Linked DNA regions of Homo sapiens: region 1 is linked to region 2. Evidence: promoter capture Hi-C in 16 types of primary human blood cells and fetal thymus (Javierre and others, 2016). All regions are on one chromosome and are shown on one strand. The core of a region is centred on a gene start or on the middle of the fragment in contact, and the rest is flanking DNA. Distances in the headings are between cores, read along the strand shown. Region 1 holds the start of CASP10 (caspase 10). Region 2 holds the start of FLACC1 (flagellum associated containing coiled-coil domains 1).

The links. Contacts are between HindIII fragments. The CHiCAGO score rates a contact against its expected background, and 5 or more counts as called.
Region 1: a contact is called between a fragment that was not itself captured here and the fragment with the promoter of FLACC1 in region 2, in 2 of 17 cell types (endothelial precursors and M2 macrophages). The highest score is 6.9, in endothelial precursors.

Annotation. Positions count from the first base shown.
Region 1 is chr2:201,180,756-201,186,381 of GRCh38, forward strand. CASP10 (caspase 10) reads left to right here and starts at 2,386. Exons shown (of 10, transcript NM_032977.4): 1 at 2,386-2,553; 2 at 5,016-5,369. The coding sequence starts at 5,023. The HindIII fragment of the contact is 2,882 bases long and covers 2,208-5,089 here.
Region 2 is chr2:201,353,965-201,360,166 of GRCh38, forward strand. It overlaps FLACC1 (flagellum associated containing coiled-coil domains 1), which reads right to left and starts at 3,381. Exons shown (of 15, transcript NM_001127391.3): 1 at 3,018-3,381. The HindIII fragment of the contact is 10,294 bases long and covers 1-6,150 here.

The sequences.
Region 1 (5,626 bases), core at 2,399-4,898, 170 kb before region 2:
GGTCACTTTGCTTTCCAATTGTGCCCAATTCAGGGCTTTGAATTGCCTGCTAAATATTTAATATTATTGAATCAAAGTTGAAAGAGTTAATATACTTTATGAACAGAGTGAGAGAAAGTGATAGTTTCAATAAGTTGCCTCCCTAAATGGCCCAATAAATTTAATATTTATAATAAAACAACTAAATAGAAGACCAAGACTTACGGCTTGTCTTTCTTCCTTTTTAAGTTATTTTCCAGAAAATAATATTTATATTTTAAGTTAAAGTAACTGCAAATTGGAAACCACAGGGGGAGCCCCAGGCTGGGACAAATAATGACTAGCCTGGTCCCAACAGAACAGGCAAAGAAGGTGGTCCCTACACTCTTTATGGTCAGTTGGGGCCCCCTCCTCACTCTGCTGCAGCATTCTAGGGTCAGGGCCCCACCTTCCCTGGAACTGGGGTAGTGAGTAACCCAGCCTGCTGTGCTCCGGCCCCCCTTTCCCAAGAAGGTTTTTTTTTTTTTTTTTTTTGAGAGAGTCTTTCTCTGTCGCCCAGGCTGGAGTGCAATGGCACGATTTTGGCTCACTGCAACCTCTGCCTCCCGGGTTCAAGCGATTCTCCAGCCTCAGCCTCCTAGTAGCTGGGATTACAGGCATGTGCCACCAAGCCTGGCGAATTTTATGTTTTTAGTTGAGATGTGGTTTCACCATGATGGCCAGGCTGGTCTTGAACTCCTGACCTCAAGCAATCTGCCCACCTCAGCCTCCCAAAGTGCTGGGATTACAGGTGTGAGCCACTGTGCCTGGCCAGGACTTGTCTTTTTCTTTTCTTTTTTTTTTTGAGAAGGAGTCTTGCTCTGTAGCCCAGGCTGGAGTGTGATGGCGTGATATCCGCTCACCGCAACCTCCACCTCCTGCCTTCAAGCGATTATCCTGCCTCAACCTCCCGAGCAGCTAGGATTACAGGTGTGTGCCACCACGCCCAGCTAATTTTTTGTATTTGTAGTAGAGACAGCGTTTCACCATCTTGGCCAAGCTGGTCTCGTGATCCGCCTGCCTCAGCCTCCCAAAGTGCTGGGATTACAGGCGGGAGCCACTGCACCTGGCCCCAGGACTTGTCTTTCTTAAGCACAGAAGTTCTCTGAATGATGCCTAGGACATGGAAAGGACATTTTAATACATTTGCTAATCAAAGCATCATAAATCTTGCTTTTTTTCCCCATAGATAAAACATCTTTCTAAGACTCTGTACCTCTTTCCAGAGTGCTGCACATTTGAGTTAGCTTAATTATAGTGTAGTGACTTTGATCCAAACTTGCTGGTTTAAATCTTGGCTCTTCCAGCCGCTCACTGTGTGACCTTGGGCAAATTAATTAACCTTTCTGTGCCTTAGTTTTCACATGTTAAAGCAGCAGTCATAGTAATAGTATTTATCTTACAGTGTTGTTGGGATGGTGAAATGAGTAAATATTTGTAAATGCCCTGGCACATGGTAGTTGCAATATTAGTGTGCAGTATTGTTTTTATGATTAGAAATAATGTCTTCAAAGTCTCACTTTCCTGCTGGTTTGAATGTGCTGTGAGAACACATACTGTCAGTTTTGCCTACCACAAATTTGTTGAGTCTCTTGCAGGTACCTCCAAATGGGCTTGTAATTCACCATCCCCACTTTTCTTTTTTTTTTCCTTTCTTTTTCTTTTTATTTCTTAATTTCTCCCACAAAGACTGAAAGTGAATCCCCACTTTTCTTTTATCTTTTAAAAATTTTATTTGTGGGCCGGGCACGGTGGCTCCATGCCTGTAATCCCAGCACTTTGGGAGGCCAAGGAGGGTGGATCACAAGCTCAGGAGTTCGAGACCAGCCTGGCCAACATGGTGAAACCTCGTCTCTACTAAAAATACAAAAAATTAGCCGGGCGTGGTGGCGCATGCTTGTAATCCCAGCTACTCGGGAGGTTGAGGCAGGAGAATCACTTGAACACAGGAGGCAGAGGTTGCGGTAAGTGGAGATCGCTCCATTGTTTATTTGCATGTGGACATAAGAAAGGGTTAACATGGCCGACAACTATTTCATGAGCTTTTTGGCTTTATTTGAAAAGTGAAGTGTGTTTGGGGAAGGAGTTGGTTAGGAAAACAGATGCTTCCCTTTTTGACTTACCAAGGAAATGGAGATCCAAAGGAAAGCCTGAAGCACTTTGTGGCTTCCACGGGTTCGTTTCTAGGAAGCTTTTGCTTTACCTGGGGAAACCCCAAGCTCTACAGTGAGAAAGTTGTAAATTAGCCTTTAGGAGACGCTGTTTGTCAAAGTTATCTTAACCCTGGAAAAGGGGAGGGAAAAAGGCAGATAAGCAGTGATGACATCAGCAGGAAACTAGTATCAGGCTACCCAGTCCTGAAGATTCAGTTTTCACTTAAACAACCAGCAAGTCTTGAAGTCTCTTCCCAAGCAAATGGGAGCTTCTTTGGACCTTGGAGCACACAGAGGATTCTACTTTCTTTAAAACTTTGTTTTCAGGCAATTTCCCTGAGAACCGTTTACTTCCAGAAGATTGGTGGAGCTTGATCTGAAGGTATGTAATTAACAACCCTTCTTACTCCAGAGTCTCATGCTTGAATCTTTTCCTTTGCTTCATGGCTTCGTGTTGTAGAAACTTGCAAAAACTTGTCAGCAATGGCACTATTTTTTCTTAGATTTCTTTGTCATGCCTGGGAAAACAAAAGTTAAAAAATCCGGAAGCCTCCAACATAGCCTTTTACCGGGGCAGAAATATGTTAGCTCACAGAGACAAAGTTTGGTAGACTCACTAAAACTAGAGATCAGAATTGTCAAGAAACCACAAGGCAAATGCTAGATGCGGTAGAATAGAAAGGTGTCTCCAATAAACCACTCATTTGACCTCAGGGCTAGTAGCAGGGAAGATCCCCTGGATTATCACATTAAAAATGACATTTTTTTGTTTCTTTTAACACCAAAAGTAATGTGTATGCTCACATATGCATAAAATTTGAGAAATTCAATTGGAAGCCCAGAAGGAAATTTGTATTATCTATAGTTATGTCACCTCGATATAACCACTGTTTGTTATGGAGGTTTTGATTTTTGCTGTGTCTTCCTTCCTTTATTTATTTATTTATTTATTTATTTATTTATCTATTTATTTATTTGAGACGGAGTCTCCCTCTTTCACCCTCCAGCACTCAAGCTGGAGTGCAGTGGCACAATCTTGGCTTACTGCAACTTCCGCCTCCCAGGTTCAAGCAATCCTCCCATCTCAGCTTCCTATGAAGCTGGGACCACAGGCATACACCACCAAGCCCAGCTAATTTTTGTATTTTTTGTAGAGACGGGGTTTCACCGTGTTGCCCAGGCTTGTCCCGAATTCCTGGCCTCACAGTGATCCACCTGCCTCAGTCTCCTGAAGTGCTTCTCTGATTATAATGAAATTTAGTATGTAGAATACCATAGTTTATAGACTAGTCAGATGGAAACATTGACTCATGTAATTTTTATCTTCCTTCGCTGATTTGAGCAACTCTTGTCTAAAATCACCCTTTCCTTCTGAGGTCTAGGAGGTTTTTTTGTTGTTGTTTTGTTTTGTTTTTGAGGCAGGGTCTTGCTCTGTCACCCAGGGTGGAGTGCAGTGGCACAATCATGGCTCACTGGAACCTCCATCCCCGGGGCTCAAATGATCCTTCTGCTTCAGCCCTCTGAGTAGTTGGGACCACAGGCGTGCACCACCATGCCTGGCTAATTTTTGTATTTTTTGTAGAGATGGGGTTTTACCACGTTGCCCAGTCTGGTCTTGAACTCCTGGCCTCAAGTGATCCACCCGCCTTGGCCTCCCAAAGTGCTGGGATTATAGGCGTAAGCCATGACACCCCACCTGTTCCTTCCTTTATAAAGTATTTTCTTGTTTCTAAAAATAGCCAAGTTCTGCATATTGACTACATACCTCAAGTGCTTATAGAATAAATAGTATTACAATGAAAATTTTATCACTGCATTGCTCCTCTGATTATGATGAAATTTAGTATAGAGAATAGCATAGTTTATAAACTGATCAGATGGAAACATTGACTCATGTAATTTGTTTTTTTTTAGTGAAAACAAGTTTATTAGAGAAGTAAAGAAACAAAAGAATGGCTACTCCATAGACAGAGCAGCCGACTCATGTAATTTTTAACTTCCTACACTGATTTGAGCAACTCTTGTCTAAAACCACCCTTTCCTCCTGAGGTCTAGGATATTTTATTTATTTATTTTTCTTTTTGAAACAGGGTCTCACTCTGTCACCCAGGGTGAAGTGCAGTGGCATGATCATGGCTCACTGCAACCTGTGCTCCCCAGGCTCAAATGATCCTTCCATCCTCGGCCTCCTGAGTAGTTGGGACCACAGGCATGTGCCACCATGCCCTGATAATTTTTTGTATTTTTAGTAGAGACCAGGTCTCGCCATGTTGCTCAGGCTTGAGGTCTAGGATTATGCCTTCCCTTTCTGTAAGATAAAGGCCTGCCCTCTTACAGGTAGCAGTCTGAAGTTAAGATGTAACACACATACCTCACGGTACCTTGCTGTCTTTGGGTTGATAGATCATAAGGATAACCCTGCCTCCCCCAGATTGCTTTGTGTCTAAAACTTAAAGCATAGAGCCAAGTGCTATTTCTGCCACGTGCTGGAAATGAATGTAAGGGCTCCAATCAGGCTACCAGGCTTGAGAAAAATTGTGCTGTGTCCCTCCATCTTAACTTTCTCTCTCTGGGAACATTTTGATTTGGGAGAAATCAAGGTGAATTGAATTCCAATATAAGCACCCTCCAAGTTTCCTAAAAAGTAACTTGCAAGTGTTGGGGAAAAGTTTTCTGGGCTGTTGCTTTTTGAAGTAGCCTCGCCGTAATTTTTATTTTTCAGCACTTCTAGGAAAGTCTAATGCCCAGAACGGAGAAGGTTGTGGTGAGGGGAGGGCCTGGGAAGTCAGGGGGCCATATGTCCTCACTCTCTAACTCCCTGCCCCACCTCTCTGTCCCTTTCAGGCTGGCCATGAAATCTCAAGGTCAACATTGGTATTCCAGTTCAGATAAAAACTGTAAAGTGAGCTTTCGTGAGAAGCTTCTGATTATTGATTCAAACCTGGGGGTCCAAGATGTGGAGAACCTCAAGTTTCTCTGCATAGGATTGGTCCCCAACAAGAAGCTGGAGAAGTCCAGCTCAGCCTCAGATGTTTTTGAACATCTCTTGGCAGAGGATCTGCTGAGTGAGGAAGACCCTTTCTTCCTGGCAGAACTCCTCTATATCATACGGCAGAAGAAGCTGCTGCAGCACCTCAACTGTACCAAAGAGGAAGTGGAGCGACTGCTGCCCACCCGACAAAGGGTTTCTCTGTTTAGGTGAGGACGGGTCTGTGGTGGAGATGGGAGGATCTCCCATCTAGTGTTCATTCTGGCCATTGGGCTTTGAAAGGAAGCTGCAGTTAAGATCTTTTGGTTATCTACCTCCTTGGATGATAAACCAGGAGATTCTAAACCTCCTTCTCAGCCTCTGATGCTAATGAGATAAGAGTTGGGAGGTCAGCAAAGCTTCAAGACCAAGCCCTGGGCCCAGAGGTGGCTTCCCTTTGTTTTGCTTCTCACTAGCAGTGAAGCCC
Region 2 (6,202 bases), core at 2,131-4,630:
CAGAAGCATTAAAGTGATAGCAGATTTAACTCAAATGTCTAAGTCTATGATTAGTTTTCAATATTACACTGGAATACATTTGCTTAAGAACCTGCTGAAAAAATGAAATCAACCTTTGTCTCCAACACGACTGATGCTTGAGAAACCCACTGATGGTGTCTAATGACCTTAAGAGCTACAGAGGACCTTAAGGTTGAATCTGTTTTACATATGAGGATACTAAAACTCACTCACTTGTAACTGCTGCTTTAACAGTACAAATCTTTAGAGGCTCGTGCTGTGAGTCCTGTGCTAGATGCTGGTTGGACCTTGCCCTCAGGGAGCTTGCAGTCAGCAGAGGAGTCGGCAGAAAGAGAGCTAAGTGAGCAGTGGAGCAAAGGCAAGAGACCTGGCCTTGGAAGAAAGGCAGCGTGTGCAGGGGTTGGCTGGGCCAGAGGCCTGGGACTAGGGAGTCTTCTGCAATAGAGGTCAGGGCTAGAAAGGAGTCCAGGGCTAGAAAGGAGTCCAGGAGACTGGCTAAACAGCAAAGGCCTGAAGAGCAGGTGACAGGGCCGCCATTTATAACTGTCCATACTCCACTGGGTTTGGGGGCCTGTTAGGGCCAAGTCAAGGAGATGAGGTCAGAGAAGCAGATGGGATCGAGTGCCCAGGTGGGAAGATGATGCTACAAGGGGCTGGAATTCAGGTGAGAGTCTGAAAGAAGGCTACAACAGTAGCAAAAAAGAAACTGCTTCTGCTTAGAACCTTGTATCTGCTTCCTGTACGAAAGGAGCCAACCCTGAACTTGGGAGATTTAGCAGGAGTCCATGGGGCAAGAAGTGAGAGGCTAAGGCAGGCCCACTTCTAGCAACTGCCTTCTCTCTTCTTGAAGGCCAGGACTCCACTATGGAGTGCTCTCTGTGCCTCAACACCTCCACTAAGCCTTGCAAAGTGGCTTGTCCACAACGGGCATTTGATGAATATTTCTTACCTGACTAGTAAACTTAGTGGTTGTAATCAGCTCATCATGGTGGTTGGGGCTAGCTCAACAAAGAGAAAAAGATGGTATGGTGGCTGATGCCTGTAATTCCAGCACTTTGGGAGGCCAAGGCGAGAGGATCACTTGACGCCAGGAGTTCGAGACCAGCCTAGCCAACAGGGCGAAACCCCGTCTCTACTAAAAACACAAAAATTAGCCAGGCATGGTGGCACATGCCTGTAATCCCAGCTACTCGGGAGGCTAAGGCAGGAGAATCACTTGAACCTGGGAGGTGGAGGTTGCAGTGAGCCGAGATCTCACCACTGCACTCCAGCCTGGATGACAGAACAAGACTCTGTCTCAATAAATAAATGAATAAAACAAAAAACAAAAACAAAGAGAAAAGAGATTCACAGATGAAACTGCCAAAATGTTGTAATCGTCATTACCATATTATAAATAACATTAAACATTTGCATTCAAAAGCCAGAAAGCAGAGGTAAATTGTATGGGTGATACAATCACTCAGTGGAGTTTTACATAGATTTTCAATGATCTTTGATGAATGTGTAGTTGTTTCCTTTTCCTCTTTCCCATGATAAACAATGTCTTGGTATATATTCTTTTGCTCTTAAGAAAAAAAAAAAAGAAGGCCTCACAGGTGTGGTGGCACATGTCTGTAATCCCAACACTTTGAGAGACTGAGGTGGGAGAGTCGCTTGAGGCTAGGAGTTTGAGACCAGCCTGGGAAACATATCGAGACTCTGTATCTACAAAAAATTTTAAAAATAGCCTAGTATGGTGGAGTGTGCCTGTAGTCCCAGCCACTTGGCAGGTGGTGCGGGAGGATCACTTGAGGCCAGGAGTTTGAAGTTGCAGTGAGCTAGGACCACACCACTGCATTTCAGCCTGGGTGACAGCACAAGACCCTGTCTCTAAAAAATAAATAAATAAATAAAATAAAAATAAAGGCCTTTTTCTTTGAACACCCATGGGAGTGATACTCAAAATATTTAACAACCAGTAAGACAAGGCTATTGAATAATCAACCAGGGTTGGAACAGGGTCCTGGGAGATCTCACTCCCACCTCCATGCCAGGCATTAACCCCTTAGTTGCTGAATCATGAGGTGGTCTGGGGGTGCCAGGGGAGGAGTTGGGACAACCAAGGTGGCAAGGAGGACATGCAAGGGGCTTGGACAATGGTCATCTACCAATCAATATGACAGTATTTTATTTATTATTATTATTGTTTTGAGACGGAGTTTTGCTCTTGTTGCCTAGGCTGGAGTGCAATGGTGTGGTCTTGGCTCACTGCAACCTCTACCTCCGAGGTTCAAGCGATTCTCCTGCCTCAGCTTCCCCAGTAGCTGGAATTACAGGCACCCGCCACCATGCCTGGCTAATTTTTGTATTTTTATAACGATGGGGTTTCACCATATTGGCCAGGCTGGTCTCAAACTCCTGACTTCAGGTGATCCACCCATCTCAGCCTCCCAAAGTGCTGGGATTACAGGTGTGAGCTACCGTGCCCTGCCTATATGGCAGTATTTTAATATTTCAGTAGCTAAAATCAGCCCTTGACTTCTCATAGCTTCTTAAGTGGGAACTACTTCTAACAGATTTTTGGGGCATCCTTCCAGAAATGTTGTGAGTGCATATAACCTTAAATGTTTTGCATATAGAACTTAACCTGTAGAGAAGCATAATAGATTTTTTAAATTATTTGCATAAGTGAGAGCATACTTTGCACACAATGTTGCATCTTGTTCTTTTTGTGTAACAGGATATCTAGTTGATATTTCCATGTCATCACAGATAGATCTGCATTTACAGTGGCTTGACATCATATAGCTCTAATTATAGAGGGGTGTGTGAGTGTGTGTAAGGATTTTTTCTCCCCCTTTTTTCCCTTTCCTGCACTTCTACCTGATGATTTTACCTGAGGCTTGCCCTAACAATAGTCACCAGTGAGCCGGCAGAGGCTTCAGAGAAGTTACTGGTTAGTATTAATAATCAGTAGAAAAAATAATATAAAACATCTTTTCCAAAGAGCTTACCTTGGACTGCCCAAAGATCTGTTATTCTCATGTGGCCCAAGTCAAACATCTTAAAGAAACCACCATGTTAGAGAGAAATGGTTCCCCATCAACACAGAATCAGAGTTTACTTTAGATCAAAAGCCACTTTAGTGGCCATTCCAAGTGGTTGAAATGCCGAAGGAGAAAATTCACAGTATATGTACTGCGGGAAGACAGACTTCTAGTGAATCCAATCAAAGGCTTTTACAAAGGCTGGCCTGGCACAAACATGAATTTCCCTTCTAAAGACAAAACAGTTGAAGTTTCTCAGTATTGCAATGAAATTAAACTAGAGGAGAAGGTCACCCCACCATTCAGATTCCTGTGACTTGGGCCTGAGTTGTGAGGTTTGCCCTTGGGAGATGGCAGGCCAAAGTTTGTTTATTTTGTTGCTATGGACACAGAACAGTAGCTCCTCATTGGCTCAGGGCTCTTTTCTTCAAGAGAGAAGGTTGGGAGAAACAGCCAATTAAATTCTCCAAGACACAAATCAGTGACCACCCTCAACAGCAAAGAATTCATACTTTTAACACTGGATTTCCACTTTCGTCATCAGTCATGGGACAAAAAAGTTTAAGATATATCTTCAGAGGAAATAGAATTCAACAGCACTTTTAGGCTTCATTGGTCTATGGCAATAGTTACCAGGCAGGATCTGTGATGGATTTTTAATTCCTCTGTGATCTACTCACAGAAACCTAAAACTCTAGACACTTTTTTCCCTCGAGTTTAAGGCTTTGAAATCTGTGAAAGTAAAAATCCCCCAAGGCAGGAATCTTTTGCAGTCACAAGGTTTTCCGATTTTTTTTTTTAAATAAAGCTGCTTTTTCTTACTATAGAAAAAAGTACTTGCTTATTACAACCCAGTGGCTTTCATTTTAGTTTTACTGCCACTCATTATAAGAAATACATTTTACAAATTTTGTAATAAAAAAATTTCATGAAATAATACTCTTATTATTTGCTATTCTCTTCTATTTCTTTTTCTTCTTTAAATTAAAGCTGATTATAATCCACTAGATTGATTTCATGATCCTGGTGGGTCACAACCCCTAGCTTACAAAATATTGTTATAAATTCATCTATTCACTCAACTTCACATTTGTTGTCTACTGTGTGCCAGGCACTATTGCTAGGTGTGGGGATATACCTCAGTTCTTATACTCAATACAACTTAGAGACCAATGAGAAAACAGACAATAAAAAAGCTCAATAAAAGCATAATTAATTTTTTTTTCCTTTGAGACAGTAGCTCACTCTGTTACCCAGGCTGCGGTGCAGTGGCAGTGGCAGTGCAGGCTGCATGCATAGCTCACTGCAGCCTTGACCTCCTGGACTCAAGCGATCCTTCTGCCTCAGACTCCCAAGTAGATGGGACTACACAGGTGCACAGCACCATGCCCAGCTAATTTTTTTTTTTTTTTTTTTTTTTGAGACGGAGTCTCGCTCTGTCACCCAGGCTGGAGTGCAGTGGCGGGATCTCGGCTCACTGCAAGCTCCGCCTCCCGGGTTCACGCCATTCTCCTGCCTCAGCCTCCCAAGTAGCTGGGACTACAGGCGCCCGCCACTACGCCCGGCTAATTTTTTTGTATTTTTAGTAGAGACGGGGTTTCACCGTTTTAGCCGGGATGGTCTCGATCTCCTGACCTCGTGATCCGCCCGCCTCGGCCTCCCAAAGTGCTGGGATTACAGGCGTGAGCCACTGCGCCCGGCCGCCCAGCTAATTTTTTTGACTTTTAGTATACATGAGGCCTTGCTATGTTGTCCAGGCTGGTCTTGTACTCCTGAATTCAAGTGATCCTCCTGCTTCGGCCTCCCAAAGTGCTGGGATTACAGGTGTAAGTCACCATGCAGCCACAATGACTCATATTGAGACTTGCCAGAAGCAGTGGGAGTTCATAGCAGGAGTTACTCTTCTAGTCCAGTGAGTCAGGCAGCAGTGTTAAACAGAGAAGAGATCTGACTAGATCTACATATCAGAAAGATCATTCTGACTGCAATATAGGGAAGCAATTGGAAGGGCCAGGAAAACCAGGTAAAAGTCTGTGGCAGTGGTCGTCATGGGACCTGACGATGGCCCTGACTGAGGAGCAGCAGTGGGGATGGAGAGAAGACATGATAGAACTTGGTGATTGACTGGATGCTGGGATGAGCGAAAAGGAGAAGGTGATGATTCCTGGCTTTCCAGCTCGAGCAATTGAGTTGACCGTGGTGCCATTTATTGAGATAGGAAAGTGTGGAGGGATAAACAGGTTCTAGGGAGCAGATTATTAGTTCAGTTTTGGATATGTTGAGGTGCAGGGAGACTAATAGACAAGTGGTGACGTCTGTTAGAGTTTCTTACATATTTTAGAAGTTCAGAGGAAGATTCTGGCCTAGAAGCAGATTTAGGAGTCTTCAGAGTGGATACTATTCCAAGCCAAGGGAGCGAGTGAGATCACATATAGAGAGAGTATTGTGTAAGGAGAGAAGAGGGTCTAGAACAGAGCTCTGAGGACACCAGTATTTACGACAAGATTTCTCAGTGTGGGCCATGTGTAGTTAAAATGCATAGACCTGTTGCTTGATTGCAAGTGGCTTACATCAAAGAGGTTTATTAACCTCATGAAATAGAGTCTGGAGGCAGTGCTATCAGAGTTGGTGCAAAGATTCAGCAATGTCCTTGGAGAACTGGGCTCTTTCCATCTCTCTGTTATGCCAGCCTCGGTGTGTTGATGGAGGGAAGCGTCTTGGTTGCACTATGGCTGCTTCAACTCTGAGCACCATGAACAGGCTAGATGAAGAGAGACTTTCAAAGATTAAAAGGAGGGAAATAACTTAGAGAAGAATTGATAGACTCTATTAGTCATCTAGACAATCTGTCTCCATCCAGAGATTGAATATTTACTTTGAGTGTGTTTAATGTGTAAAATTTTATATTTAAATCCTTTCTTATGATTAAAAAAAAAAAGCAGCAGGATTTGGGTCTTGAGTGAAGCATGGCTAAAAACAGAGATACAGAGGAAGTAAGTGCTGAAGGAATACCCCAGCCACTCGACTTGGCAAAGGCTCAGCACTAATTACTACTACTTGGGTATCCCCATTCTCCTTTCATCTTTTTGGACATGAGTAAAGCTTCGCCAGTTCCAAAACAGCTGAGGAGAAGGAAATGAAGGTGTTTAGGG